Regions from separate parts of the Homo sapiens genome. Here region 1 is linked to region 2. Evidence: promoter capture Hi-C in 16 types of primary human blood cells and fetal thymus (Javierre and others, 2016). All regions are on one chromosome and are shown on one strand. The core of a region is centred on a gene start or on the middle of the fragment in contact, and the rest is flanking DNA. Distances in the headings are between cores, read along the strand shown. Region 1 overlaps CNOT10 (CCR4-NOT transcription complex subunit 10). Region 2 holds the start of GLB1 (galactosidase beta 1).

Region 1 (7,629 bases), core at 4,046-6,545, 380 kb after region 2:
TCCCGGGTTCACACCATTCTCCTGCCTCAGCCTCCCGAGTAGCTGGGACTACAGGCGCCCGCCACCACGCCCGGCTCATTTTTTGTATTTTTAGTAGAGATGGGGTTTCACTGTGTTAACCAGGATGGTCTCGATCTCCTGACCTCGTGATCCGCCCGCCTCAGCCTCCCAAAGTGCTGGGATTACAGGCGTGAGCCACCGCGCCTGGCTAGGAATTATGTCTTTTATCATTAAAAAAAAAAAAAAAAAAAAAAGTTTGATAATGGGTGGCTGGCTAACTGGGCCTTTCCCTCTTAGGCTCAGGTCTAGGCCACAATTGTTCTCAAAAATCACTAGCATATTAACTAACTCAGTGACTAATCTGGATCCTGCCTGAGATTTTTAACCATATTTTCTCATGACTTTATACTTCTAAATTTATAGTTTTTCTAGAAGCATCAAGATTGTTCACAATTCTGTTTCTTTCCTACACCATCTTAAAAATTATCAATGAAAGATTAGGGTGGAGGGAGTGGAAGGAAGAAGTAATTCTATCTCAGTTAAATCGAAGGTACTGTCAAGCCAAAAGTCACTTGGAAGGGGCAGGTTTTGGCTATAATTTGACTGTTAGATTTTTAATAAATTTTTTTTTATTTAAAAAATGTTTTTTGACAGGGTCTCACCCTGTTGCCCAGGCTAGCGTGAAATGACACGATCTCAGCTCACTGCAACTTCTGCTTCCCAGGTTCAAGTGATCCTCCCACTTTAGCCTCCCTAGTGGCTGGGACTACAGGCACACGCCACCACACCCGGCTTATTTTTGTATTTTTAGTAGAGACAGGGTCTCATCATGTTGACCAGGCTGGTCTTGAACTCCTGACCTCAGGTGATCCGCCCACCTTGGCCTCCTAAAGTGCTGGGATTACAGGTGAGTCACCACCTGGCCATAAATGTTTTGAGTATAATACTAAAAAATTCTAAAATAACCTAAATGTCTAATATTAGCAAAATGTTTAAGTGAGTTGTGATAAACCAGTCACAGAAAAATAGGCAGTTATTTAAAATGGTGGTTTTGAAGGTTACATAAAATAGAAAAGTGCTTGTTGTAATTTTAAGTAAAAAAAAAAAAATTAAACTATAGACACAGTATTATTACTACTTCCCAACTTTAAAATAGCAAGGTTCATATCTGGCAGTATATGTAAAAGACTAAGATAAATTATTTAAACCTGACAATACCCATAGTCTAAATAAGAAAGACACAAATTGAAAAACAAAAGTCCAGAAGAAACTTACATTTCCAGCTGTATTCATGACTGACTTGATTTCCCTTTTACATGCTTTCAGAGACTTCATTTGGATATAAGCTCGTACTTTGTACTGTCAAAGGGAAAATGTTAGTATGTTAAAACTATGGTGGATTTACATACAGTTTTACTTTCTAGTTAAGAAAACCCAATCTATTTACAACATAGTTACACTAATTACTTGCTAAATCAAGTTTACAATTTTAGAAAATATGCTATTTTCACTGTACTCTTCGAATATACTTCAAAATACTAAAATCACGGTAGAATAAAAACTTAGCCAGATGTGGTGGCTCACGCCTGTAATCCCAGTACTTTGGAGGCCGAGGCAGGTGGATCACCTGAGGTCAGGAGTTTGAGACCAGCCTGGCCAACATGATGAAACCCTGTCTCTACTAAAAATACAAAAAATTATCCGGGTGTGGTGATGCGCACTAGTAATCCCAGCTACTCAGGAAGGCTGAGGCAGGAGAATCGCTTGAAACTGGGAGGCAGAGGTTGCAGCGAGCCGAGATCGCACCATTGCACTGCAGCTTGGGTGACAGAGTGAGGCTCCGTCTCAAAAAACAAACAAAAAACTTAAATACTCAAGTTCCGGGCAAAAATCCTATCAATCCTCTTCTGCACATGGCTAACAATGACTTTTTAAAATTCCAGTTGATTTTATCATGCAGTACATTCCCGTGCCATTTCTCTCAAACTTTATTTATAGAGCAATTTAAATAAATTATATTATCCTCTTAAGAAAAATGTATTTAGGATAAATGTGCTTCTAAACTACAATACTTCAAAAGACAAACAAATATATGCACCTTGAATTATTGACTGCTTCCAATGATCTATCTCATTGCTTCATTTGTCATAACTACAATTAAATATATGTGATGTATTGCCCCCCTTTAAAATTTATACTACCTGATGTATCTTTGATTTTGCAGCTTCTATTAGAGCTCCACTTTCAGCTTTATGATTAGATCCATCTTTGTTGTTGTTATTACCAGTCTGTAGGGTGATGAAACAAAGTTTATCAAAATTAAATATTTTTGACCATAATTTAAATCAGTGATTTCCAAGTGAGCTAATCTAAATTACCTAGAGAGCATTTTCAAAATGTAGAATTTGTGGGAAATGGTGGTTCATGCCTGTAATCCCAGAACTTTGGAAGGCAGAGGCGGGCGGATCGCTTGAGCCCAGGAGTTCGAGACCAGCTTGAGTAACATGGCAAAATCGCATCTCTACAAAAAATACAAAAATTAGCTGGGCATGGTGGCCATGTACCTGTAGTCCCAGCTACTCAGGAAGCTGAGGTGGGAAGACTGCCTGAGCCCAGGAGATCAAGGCTGCAGTGAGGCGTGATTGTGCTACTACTATACTCCAGCCTGAGGTGGCAGAGCAAGACCCTGTCTTTAAAAAATGCAGAATCCCAGGTCCCACTCCTAGAGACTGAGGTTCAGTAGTCTAGAGTGGGTGACAGGAAGCTCTACTCATGAGAAGCTCACAGTCGAACGTAATAATGAGCTGGTTTTATTTATTTACAATTTTAATTTTTCATAGAGACGGGGGTCTCCACTGTGGCCAGCCTGGGCTTGTTTTAAAAAACATGAATATTACTTTAAGCAAAACTCAGAATATCTTTCTAAAACCCAGAACAGATCTACCCACTTCTTAAAACTTTCTCTGTTATGAACACTGCCAATCATATCAAATTTGAACTTTCTAGTATTCAAAGTTCTTCAAGCTATCACTCACACTCATATTGCCAACATCATCTCCCACTGCTCTCCTCTGCATTTCTCTGGTACTGTTCATTTCATTACCAGAAAGGTCTCCAGCACACCATTAAGCTCATACCTTTTGTGATATTCTCTGCCAGGCTGGTTATCCTGCTCTACCCCTCCTTGTCTGACTTGTCAAACTATTAACCATCTTCCAAGGCCCAAAACAAACATCCAAATTCCTTTGAAACATTCCCTAACCTCTTTCACCTCTTTCCTCCTTGTCCATGACCAGATGTTGCCCAATTTATCTCTTCCTAGACATGAGATCCTTGAAAGCAAGGACTGCAACGTTTTTGTTTTTGTCACCTTAGTACCTAGCAGAGTACCTTAGAACCGGGCAGAGCACATAAGCATCTGCTAAATTAAATTATATTTAATCAAATTTTACAAGTACTGAATATAAATATTTTACTACACAATGTTTCGGTATAATGCTAAGGTTATTCAACTGAAATCCCTTATGAATACACACTTAAATTGAAAAAAGTAATGCCAGATGTTTATTTTCTTTTTAAACATCAAGAATGTACACAGGCAAAAAGGTATTGGCAACGTTTCCTGCAAATACTCCTTTTAAAACAAAGGGACAGAAAACGGAAGTAAGAAGGGTCATCCCTTGATAACCAGAAGCACAAATAAAAGAAAAACATGAGACCCAGGATATACTCATACTGGGCACCAAGTCTCTCACCAGAACATGGTGAAGCTTAAACATCATAAATGTATGCTTTTTTATTTTTGAGTTTGAGTCTTGCTCTGTCTCCCAGGCTGGAGTGCAGTGGCGTAATCTTGGCTCACTGCAATCTCCGCCTCCCAGTTTCAAGTGATTCTCGTGCCTCAACCTCCTGAGTAGTTGGAATTACAGTTGTGTGCCACCATGCCCAGCTATTTTTTGTATTTTTAGTAAAGACACGGTTTCACCATGTTGGCCAGGCTGGTCTCTAACTCCTGACCTCAGGTGATCCACCCGCCTTGGACTCTCAAAGTGCTGGGATTACAGGTGTGAGCTACCACGCCCAGCCATGTATTTTTTTTTTTTTTTTGAAGAACTTTAATGATGAAATTTTCCCTAATGAAAGCAATAGTGTTTATCCAGGTTATGGATTCTATTGTCTTAATTCCAATCTTTCAATTCTATAAAAATAATAGCTCATATATGAAAAGATGCTCAATGTACATCCTTAGTCATTAGGAAAATAAAAATCAAAACTGTAACAAGATACCACTTCACACCCCCTAAGATAGCTAATTTTTTTTTAAAGATAGACAATAACAAGTGTTGGTAACAATGTGGAGAAATTACAACCTCACAAGTGGCCGGTGGGAATTTAAAATAGTGCAGCCACTTTGTAAAACAGTCTTGTATAGGGTTAAATATAGAGTTAAGATACCATATAACCCAGTGATTCTATTCCTAAATATTATATCCAATGTAACTGAAAACATATATCCACACAAAAATTTGTACATGAATGGTCACAGAAGCACTATATATAATAACCAAAAAGTAGAAAAGAACCCAAATGTCCACCAACTGATAAAGAATTTTTTAAAATGTGGCATATTCATATAATGAATGGAATATTATTCAGCCACAAAAGGCATGAAGTACATGAAACAAAAATAAGTATATGCTAAAATATGGATGAAGCTTGAAAGCATTACACTAAGTAAAAAAAGCCAGTGACAAATAGCCGCATATTATGATTCCATTCATATGTAATGTCCAGACAGTAAATTCAGAGACAGTAATTAGATTAACGGCTGCTTGGGGCTGAGGAAAGGGGGAAATGGGGAGTGACTGCAAATGGTACAGGGTTTCTTTTTGGGGTGATAAAAATATTTTGAAATTAGATAGTAGTAATGGTTGTACAAATGTGAGTACACTCAAAACCACTAAACTCTACACTTTAAAATGGTAAAGCTTATAATATGAAAATTGTATCTTTAAGCTGTTAATAGTTCATAACCACAAACATTAATCATATTTTAATTGCTTTCTTTTTAATCCAGTAAACCAACAAGTAGAGAGAATTAATCACATTTTAGATTTTAGTCTGATCACCTCTAAAGACTCACCTCATTCTTTCCATTTTTGTTATTGTTACCCTGTGAAATCATTTTTTCTAGGACAGCAAGAAGATGCAAAGCTTTCTCAGCTTGGTAGGTTAATATATACAGGTCTACAAGCAAAAAACACACTGCTTGGGCAAATTTTTCTTCTGGGAGAAAAAAAACACAGAAAAGAATAGTCACAACCTAAAGTAAAGCACACATTTCAGACCACCCTCCAAAAAAGTATACAAAGCTTTAAATAGCAAAGCATAAGTCTTTACTCAAATGAATGCCTATCACCTAGAGCCACGAATGAAAGCAACTTGCAATGCCAACAATGTCATTTTACTAGGCACTGCAAGGCCTCTCATTTCAGAAATTCCAGTGATTAAATCTTCCTTAGGAAAATATCTACTAAACACTAGCACATGTAATGAGGAATATTACTTTAGGCGGAAAGAAACCTGAATTCCAATAGAGGTTGTGCATTCCTAACCTGAAATGTTGAAATCTGAAATTTGTAATCCTCCAAAATCCAAAACTTTTTTTGTTTCTGAGATGGTATCTCACTGTGTTACCCAGGCTGGAGTGCAGTGTTGCAATCTTGGCTTACTGCAACCTCTGCCTACTAGGCTCAAGAGATCCTTTCACCTTAGCCTCCTGAGTAGCTGGGACCACAAACATGTGTCACCATGCCTGGCTAATTTTTTCATAGAAACAGGGTTTCACTATGTTGCCCAGGCTGGTCTCAAGCTCCTGAGCTCAAGTGATCCACCCACTTTGGCCTCACAAAGGATAGGATTACAGGTGTGAGCCACTGTGTCCAGCCTCAAAATCCAAAACTTGTTGAGCACCAATGATGCTCAAATAAAATGCTCATGGTAGCATTTTGGACCTCAGGGTAGGAATACTGAACCAGTAAGTATAATGCAAATATTCCAAAGTTAAAAAAAATCCCAAATCTGAAACACTTCTTGTCCCAAGCATTTTGGATAAGGGATACTCAATCTGCACCTATTCAGCCACTAACTAGGTATGTGTGGTCTCTGTACATCATTTAACTTTTCAGACCTCAGCTGGCTGACCTGTCAAATGAGGAGAATATTTTACCTGCCTGAAGGCAGAAGGGTGGACCAGGGGATCTTGTGAGGTTCCTTCTAACTAAAAAAGTCTATGACTCCATGAAATACATTGCTTTTCTAGGTCATGGAGATGGAAAAAAAAAAAAAACAAACAAACACCTGATTACAGAAGCAAAAGCAGCAAGGTATGGGCTGGAGTATATCAGAAAATTGAGACTGCCAAGAGACAAGACCTTCAAAAGAAAAAGAACCCAATGAAGAGAGGAAAGTTAACCTGGTGTGACATAAAACTATCTTTCCTTTCAAAAAAGAAGATAAAAGGAAAAATAAGGTCTAGAAGAGAAAATTTCAAAAGCCTTTAAAGAGTGGAATTCATTTAAAAAACTGAAATTAACACAGCTGGTGTGCAAAGGTCATATATCTCCAAGGGAATCTCACTGCACCTAAGACAGTAAGCCCTGCCCTAGGCTTTACCTCTTCTGCCCGTGGCTAATTCTGACTTTATTTCCTATTATCCTCCTTACCTAGCTCCAGTCACAATGATCTTGCTGCTATTGCTCTCACCAAACACAGCCTCTCACCTCAAGTCTTCTCCATATCCCATTACCTCCAGTGGGAATGCTTTCCCTCTAAACAGTAGCAAGGATAATGTCTTTTCTTTATTCAGGTCTCGTTTCAAATACCATCTCATCCCAGGCCTTGCTTGATTACCTTACTTAAAACATCCCCAGTCAATCTCTACATTCTCACTCAATTTTAGCTTTACTTCATAGCATTCAGTATACAGCCAGCCCCCTGTATCTGACCTGCACCCACAGATTCAACCAACCTCAGATTGAAAATGTTAGAAGAAAAAAAAAAGTTGTTGCATCTGCACTGAATATGTACAGACGTTTTCCCCATCATTGTTCCCTAAACAATATGGTATAAAAACATTTTCATAGCATTTACAGTGTATTAGGTATTATAAGTAATTTAGCGATTATTTAAAATGTACAGGAGGACATACACAGAGACTGTATGTAAATACTACACCATTTTATATAAGGGATTTAAGTATCAGCAGATTTTGGTATCTGAAGAGGGGTGTCCTAGAACCAATCTCCCTTGAATACCAAGGGATGGCTGTTTTTTTATTATGTTGCTTTCTCTCCTATTAGAATAGAAGCTTAACGGGGGTAAAGAGTTTCTGTATTTCATTCATTGCATTATCTCCAGACCCAGAACAGTGTCTGGCCCACAGTATTGGACCATGTGCTCAATTAGCATATGTTGTATGAAGAATCTGAGTACTGGCTAGGCATGGTGGTTCACACCTGTAATCCCAGCACATTGGGAAGCCAAGGTGCTGGGCTTGAGCCCAGGAGTTCAAGACCAGCCTAGGCAACATAGTGAAACCCAGTCTCTGCAAAACAATACAAAAATTAG
Region 2 (6,732 bases), core at 1,646-4,145:
GATCTTGTCTTTAGAAAAAAAAAAATTATTCAGGCATGGTGGCACTCGCCTGTAGTCCCAGCTACTTAGCTACTCAGGAGGCCGACATGGGACGACTGCTTCAGCTCAGGAGTTCAAGGCTGCTGTGAGCTATGATTGCACCACTGCACTCCAGCCTGGGTGACAGAGCAAGACTGTGTCTAAAAAAACAAAACAAAACAAAAAAAACAAAAACCAACCCCACAAAACTTTATTTATGGACACTGACACAGGAAACTTACAACATTTTCAAATGTCATAAAATATTATTCTTTTGATTTTTTTTCATTCATTTAAAAATGTAAAAACCATTTTTAGGTGGCAGGCCATAGAAAAACTGGCAGCAAATTGTGCCGATTCTTAGTAAAAAGAATTTTAAAAAGAAAAAGAAAAACAGGCAGCAGGCCAGATTTGATCCTCTGCCCTTAGTTTGCCAACTCCTGCTCTAAACCCTTTCTACCTCAGTTCAGTTAAAAATACCTATTGCATATGATAACCCTGAGTGTACAGAGTAGGAAAGAAGGTAGAAGAAGTTGAATCTGCCATGTGTTAAGGATTTTTGTTTTGTTTTGTTTTTAAACTTCGTTCTGCAATAATTTCAGGCTTAGAAACAAAAAGTTGAAAAAAAGAGTAAAAATAATTCCTTCATTGATTTTCCAAATGTTAACATTTTACCACATTTGCTTTTCTTTCTCACGTTCTTTTCATGCCTGGAATACCATTTCTCTCCCTCTCTCTCTCTCTCTTTCTCTCTCTCTCCATTTTTTTTTGTGAACTGTTTGAGAATCAGTTGCAAAGATGATGCCCTTTTGTTTCCTAAAAAACAAGGATGTTCTTTTATATAACCATTACCAAAATTACCATTACCGTTACCCAAATCAATACACTAATACAAAACTATTATTTAATATTTAGACCGTGTACCATTATCAAAATCAGAAAGTTAACATTGATGCGGCCGGGCACAGTGGCTCATGCCTGTAATCCCAGCACTTTGGGAGGCCGAGGTGGGCAAATCACTTGAGGTCAAGAGCTCCAGACCAGCCTGGCTAACATGGTGATACCCCATCTCTACTAAAAATACAAAAATTAGCCAAGCCTAGTGGTGGGTGCCTGTAATCCCAGCTACTTTGGAGGCTGAGGTGGGAGAATCACTTGAACCTGGGAGGCGGAGGTTGCAGTGAGCCGAGATTGTGCCACTGCACTCCAGCCTGGGTGACAGAGTGAGACTCTGTCCCCCCACCCCCCCAAAAAGGAAATTAACATTGATGCATGGTACTAATCTAACCTACAAGTCTAATTCTGATTTCATCAACTGTCCCACTAACATCCTGTATATACCAAGCTTCTTATCGTCATCATCTCTGGTAATTTCCCCAATTATCCAGTGAATTTGATATTATTAGCCCTGCTTTACCAACAAAGAAACTAAGCTCAGAGAGGTTAAGTAATTTGCCCACAGTTACACAGACAGTAAGTGGCAGAGCTGGAATTCCAACTCAAGTGTACTTCCTCCAGAGCCCTTGTTCTTTAATACTGAACTAGAATTGCAGAGCTTGGAAAGGACTTCACAGTGCAAGGACACGGAATTGGTACTACAGGCATGAAAAGAAGCCAGGCACGGTGGCTCATGTCTGTAATTCCAGCATTTTGGGAGTTCCAGGCAGGTAGATTGCTTGATCCCAGAACTTCAAGACCTGCCTGGGAAACGTGGTGAGACCCTGTCTCTACAAAAAATACAAAAATTAGCCGGGTGTGGTGGCGCACGCCTGTAGTCCCAGCCACTTGGTAGGCTGAGACGGGAGAATTGCTTGAGCCCAGGAGGCCAAAGCTGCAGTAAGCCGTGATTGCGCCCCACTCCAGCCTGGGTGACAGAGTGAGACCCTGTCTCAAAAAACACAAAAACAAAACAAAAAAACAACCCCCCAAACCAAAAAACAAAAACCTAAGAAAAGCCAGTAACTGATACTTTCTCAATCTCTCAATGAAATGTCCTTTCTGATACTTTCTCAATCTCTCAAGGACATGTCCGGTAGGAAAGGAGAAAGGAGTGAACAAATAGAATTTTGGCTACTTTGTTATACAATGTAAAAAGGCTTTTTGGAACACCAAGGCATAAACTAAGGTTATTTTAAAAAAGAAAATTTTTTTTTGATACGGAATTTCGCTCTTATTGCCCAGGCTGGAGCGCAATGGCTCGATCTCGGTTTACTGCAACCTCCACCTCCCGGGTTCAAGCGATTCTCCTGTCTCAGCCTCCTCAGTAGCTGGGATTACAGGCGCCTGCCACCACGCCCGGCTAATTTTTGTATTTTTAGTAGAGACGGGGTTTCATCATACTGGTCAGGCTGGTCTGGAACTCCTGACCTCAGGCGATCCGCCCGCCTCGGCCTCCCAAAGTGCTGGGATTACAGGCGTGAGCAGGATTTTCATTCTAACAAGTTCCAGGTGAGTTGATACAGTGGCTCCAGGGACCGACCACATTTTGCTAACCCCCGGCTTAGAGTTATTCAAAGAGCCCGTATATGAGACGCGGATTCCATCTAGGGCGTTTAGGTTTAATGATTAACAATTTCCCTCTTCTGCTCTCTCAAGGCAGCCAGGGAACAGGGAGACCATGATTCATGTCCAATCCCCGAGGCGCGTTATCAAGCTGCTGAAAGCAGGCCCTCCGGACTGCAGTTCCAAAGGGTCCCTTCCCAGGGAAGACGCCTGCAAAACCCAGATAGTACTATCCTGGAGTCACGCGGCGGCGCGCAGCCTCCTAGCCGCCCCCACCCGCCCGGCTCGGCCACAGCGGGGCGGGGCGCGGGGCTGAGCAGGCGCGAGGGCTGGCTGCTGGGCCGACGAGGGGCGGTGCCAGGCCGTGGGTCCTTAGTCAAGTGACGCGAAGCGGCCGGCCTGGGCGCCGACTGCAGAGCCGGGAGGCTGGTGGTCATGCCGGGGTTCCTGGTTCGCATCCTCCCTCTGTTGCTGGTTCTGCTGCTTCTGGGCCCTACGCGCGGCTTGCGCGTAAGTCTGCGGGACCCGGGTACGGGGAGGCATTGCTAGGGGACAGGCTGGCGGGGAACCGGGCTGGGGTCGCAGCCACCCGCGGTCCCGCAGGGCGGGGAGCCTGAGCCCCGAAGTGCCCCCCAGCAGGCTCGCGGCCGGCGGAACGCAGGCAGTGGACCGGCCTTCCCGTCGGGGGCGGGCCGGGCGGGGCGCGCGTCCTTCCAGGCAGCTCGGTCGCTTGTGCGTTCCGCTCCGGCCGCCCTTTGCGCTTGGATCCACTTCCCCATCTGTAACGAGGTGTTGAGACGAGGTGCGTGTAAACATTTCCTAAGTTGGCTTTCCGGGAGGGGATTCCAAGTTGCGCGGGTTAGAGGGTGCCTCCGGCTCTGGTTTGGGGCGCCCTCGCTTTCCCAGTTGGTGCTCTGCGGAGCGCTCCGGAAGGAGAAAAATGGGGTCAGGAGAGGCCCTTGCAGTGGGAACATTGGGTTATTTCCCCTCTGGGTGCTCTCCCTCTTCGTGCATCTTGTTCCTTTCTCACCACTCCCCGTCGCCTGCCCTTTGGCTTGGGTTTTTCTTTGTATTTGTGGGACCGTTTTCCTTCGGCGTTTGGGGGTCCAGGTTGAGGGGGGGAATAGGCAGGCTGCCGGGGGATGCCATCGTTGATCGGGGCAGGGCTGGCGAGGCGAATAGGTGAGGTGCGGGGCGTGCACAGTTGGTGGGAGAGGAAGGACAGCTTCACTCGCTGCGTCCGAGCTGAGGCGACTGGCTGAGGGGCTCCAAAGCGCTGCCTGGGGAGGTTTGCATCACACCTGCGGAAAGGAGAGTGGGTAGTTGCAAGCTGCTCCTCTGCACGTTCCGCGGACCAACTTTGGTTCCTCCAGGGTGTAGGTGGGCTGAGCCTGCAGTATGCTTTAAGTAAGAGCTGGTAGCATTTGACACCGTTGACTTGTAAGTTACACCCTTTAATAACGCTTTCAATAACGTGCCTAGGGCAGAGAAAAGTGGTACATTTATCTACAACCAAGATTGAACATCTTAAGTATTTGGAAAACAGCTGCTGAAAATGTTTTCATTTTGGGAAAAAGTCAGCACAGATTATTTGCTGCTCCCTCTTCACCCCGTCTGTGGTTCCCCTACCCCAGTATGTAGACAGAGTTTTCTTGTCCAGAAGGCCCGTAGGACCTTAGGAGTCAGAGCTAGCCAGCTGTGAGAACCACTGGGGAAGGTGGAACTGGGGCACAGTTCAGGAGAACAGTGGCAGGGTAAGGGGCTAGGGGAAAGGCAGATCTTAACCAGTATCTGGGAGTGGGGGTAGGGAGAGAGAGAAGGATTTATGAACCAGGAACAGGTGGACAGGGTCAATCTGTCTGATGTGAGCTCATCAGTCTTGTGCAGCGTCATTGGGTCAGGGTGGATGCCCTGTGGCTGCCATACCTGAGGCCCACACAGGGAGGCTGGCATCACCCCAGGAATTCTCATTTCAGGTGCCTAGGTGTCCCTCTTGGGCTTCTGTGCCCACAGCTAAAGAAAGATACCAGCAGTCTAGCTTTCCATTATCTCCTTGTTTACATTTCTTTAGGGTTCACGCCATTCTCCTGCCTCAGCCTCCCGAGTAGCTGGGACTACAGGCGCCCGCCATCACACCCGACTAATTTTTTTCTTTTTTTGTATTTTTAGTAGAGACGGGGTTTCACCATGTTAGCCAGGATGGTCTCGATCTCCTGACCTCGTGACCCAGCGGTTCTCAAATTTTAACTAAATTTTAGCTGTCCTAGAAATTAAGAGAATATTCCTTTTTTTTTTTTTTTTTTTTTTTTTGAGACAGAGTCTCGCTCTTTTGCCCAGGCTGGAGTGCAGTGGCACGATCTTGGCTCACTACAACTTCCACCTCCCAGGTTCAAGTGATTCTCCTGCCTCAGCCTCCCGAGTAGCTGGGATTACATGCATCCACCACCATGCCTGGCTAATTTTTGAATTTTTAGTAGAGACAGGGTTTTACCATGTTGGCCAGGCTGGTCTTGAACTCCTGACCTCAGGTAATCTGCCTGCCTCGGCCTCCCAAAGTGCTGGAATTATAGGCGTCAGCCACTGTGCCCAGCCCTAGAGAATATTTTAAACTATTTGTTAAGAAATACTACATCATTACACGTTAATAAACAATATATATATTTGAAAAACAATAGTATTTCTCCCCAAATTTTAGGGTGAAGAGTTGCACTGTTTTACATTTCTGCAAATCTCTTTCAATGTCTCTTAATAGAAGACAGTCAAATTTTCATGTTTATTTCTGCATTAAATCTGTTGCCATATCACATGTCACATAGCCTCTGGAAGACTCCACCCCCTCAGGACAGAGTGAGAATGGAAAAGGCAGTAATGGCTTGGAATTATAATAAAAATAGTTTTGACTAATTGGACCCCTGAAGGGCTCTCTCCAGACCACACTTTGAATACCGCTGATTTGGAATGTTTTTATAAAACAAGTACATGCTTACTGTAGAGAAACTTTAAACGTATAGAACATGTGGTAAGAAAATGAAAACTGCCCATCATGTCACAATGCTGTGAGTTTCTTTTTGAATAATAAAGTATAGCTAGCAACTGACTGGTATTTGAGTAGCTTGGATTCAAGGTGGGTTGGGCAGATGTAAGTGGCCTTTGAGTTTTGAATGGGTACAAGGACACTCTAATATCCCACAAAGCTGATGCTGGTTCCTGGTTGCAGGCGGAGTTGACCTGGAAACCTCTCCTTGGCCACTGTCCTTTCTAAGGAACTCATTTCCAGAGTCCACCAGCACAGAACTGGTGGGGGAGCCTACTAGGAGCAGAGAAAATGGCCATCTTCAGGCAGCTGTCCCTAGGCGCGAAGGCCACCCTGGCTGCTGTCACTGTCTTCGTGTCCATGATCGCCTCCCGCTCGTATCTGGCAGAGAGCCTTGAGCTCAGGGCCTGGCGTTGGCTGCTTCGCTTGCAGCTTGCCCTGTTTGTCAACTCGCTCTTGCTCATTGGCTCCCTCTACATTTGGCGCAGCACAGTGAGCAACCTCTGCCACTCCCCAGCTGCAGAGTCAACCTGTTTTCAGCTTTGGAAGGTGGTGGTTCTGGCATTTCTGGCCCTGGCCCATTCCAGTTTCTTTACCATGTTCTTTTTAGTGGCCGAAGAGCCCTATCTCTTTTCCTTGGCGGCCTACTCCTGCCTGGGTGCTTACATCATCATGCTCTTCTTCCTCTTCATCCTCAGCGGCATGGAGCAGGCCTACCAGCTCTTGGCCTGGCGCAGTGGTAGGGTCGTGGGCAGCCTTGAGAAGACAAGGAAGCTCGTGCTCAGGCCTGCCCTGGCAGTGGGAGTGACTGCTGTGCTCAGCGTGGCCGGGATTCTGAATGCCGCGCAGCCCCCGGCTGTGAAAACTGTGGAGGTGCCCATCCATCAGCTGCCTGCCTCAATGAACAACCTCAAGATCGTGCTCCTCTCAGACATTCACTTGGGCCCCACAGTGGGCAGGACCAAGATGGAAATGTTTGTGAGGATGGTGAATGTGCTGGAACCAGACATCACGGTGATTGTGGGTGACCTCTCCGACTCAGAAGCCTCGGTCCTGCGGACGGCTGTCGCTCCTCTGGGCCAGCTTCATTCACATCTCGGTGCCTACTTCGTCACAGGCAATCATGAGTACTACACGTCAGATGTCAGCAACTGGTTTGCACTTCTGGAATCCCTGCA

What was found. Contacts are between HindIII fragments. The CHiCAGO score rates a contact against its expected background, and 5 or more counts as called.
Region 1: a contact is called between a fragment that was not itself captured here and the fragment with the promoter of GLB1 in region 2, in 2 of 17 cell types (erythroblasts and M2 macrophages). The highest score is 6.7, in erythroblasts.

Annotation. Positions count from the first base shown.
Region 1 is chr3:32,710,884-32,718,512 of GRCh38, reverse strand. It overlaps CNOT10 (CCR4-NOT transcription complex subunit 10), which reads right to left. Exons shown (of 19, transcript NM_015442.3): 5 at 5,144-5,286; 6 at 2,202-2,288; 7 at 1,276-1,359. Among named protein-coding and RNA genes, the nearest start is that of CNOT10-AS1, 23 kb to the left of the region's middle. The HindIII fragment of the contact is 158 bases long and covers 5,217-5,374 here.
Region 2 is chr3:33,093,309-33,100,040 of GRCh38, reverse strand. GLB1 (galactosidase beta 1) reads left to right here and starts at 2,895. Exons shown (of 16, transcript NM_000404.4): 1 at 2,895-3,030. The coding sequence starts at 2,956. It overlaps TMPPE (transmembrane protein with metallophosphoesterase domain), which reads left to right and starts at 2,895. Exons shown (of 2, transcript NM_001039770.3): 1 at 2,895-3,322; 2 at 5,738-6,732. The coding sequence starts at 5,846. RefSeq lists a silencer at 2,698-3,307. The HindIII fragment of the contact is 8,101 bases long and covers 1,366-6,732 here.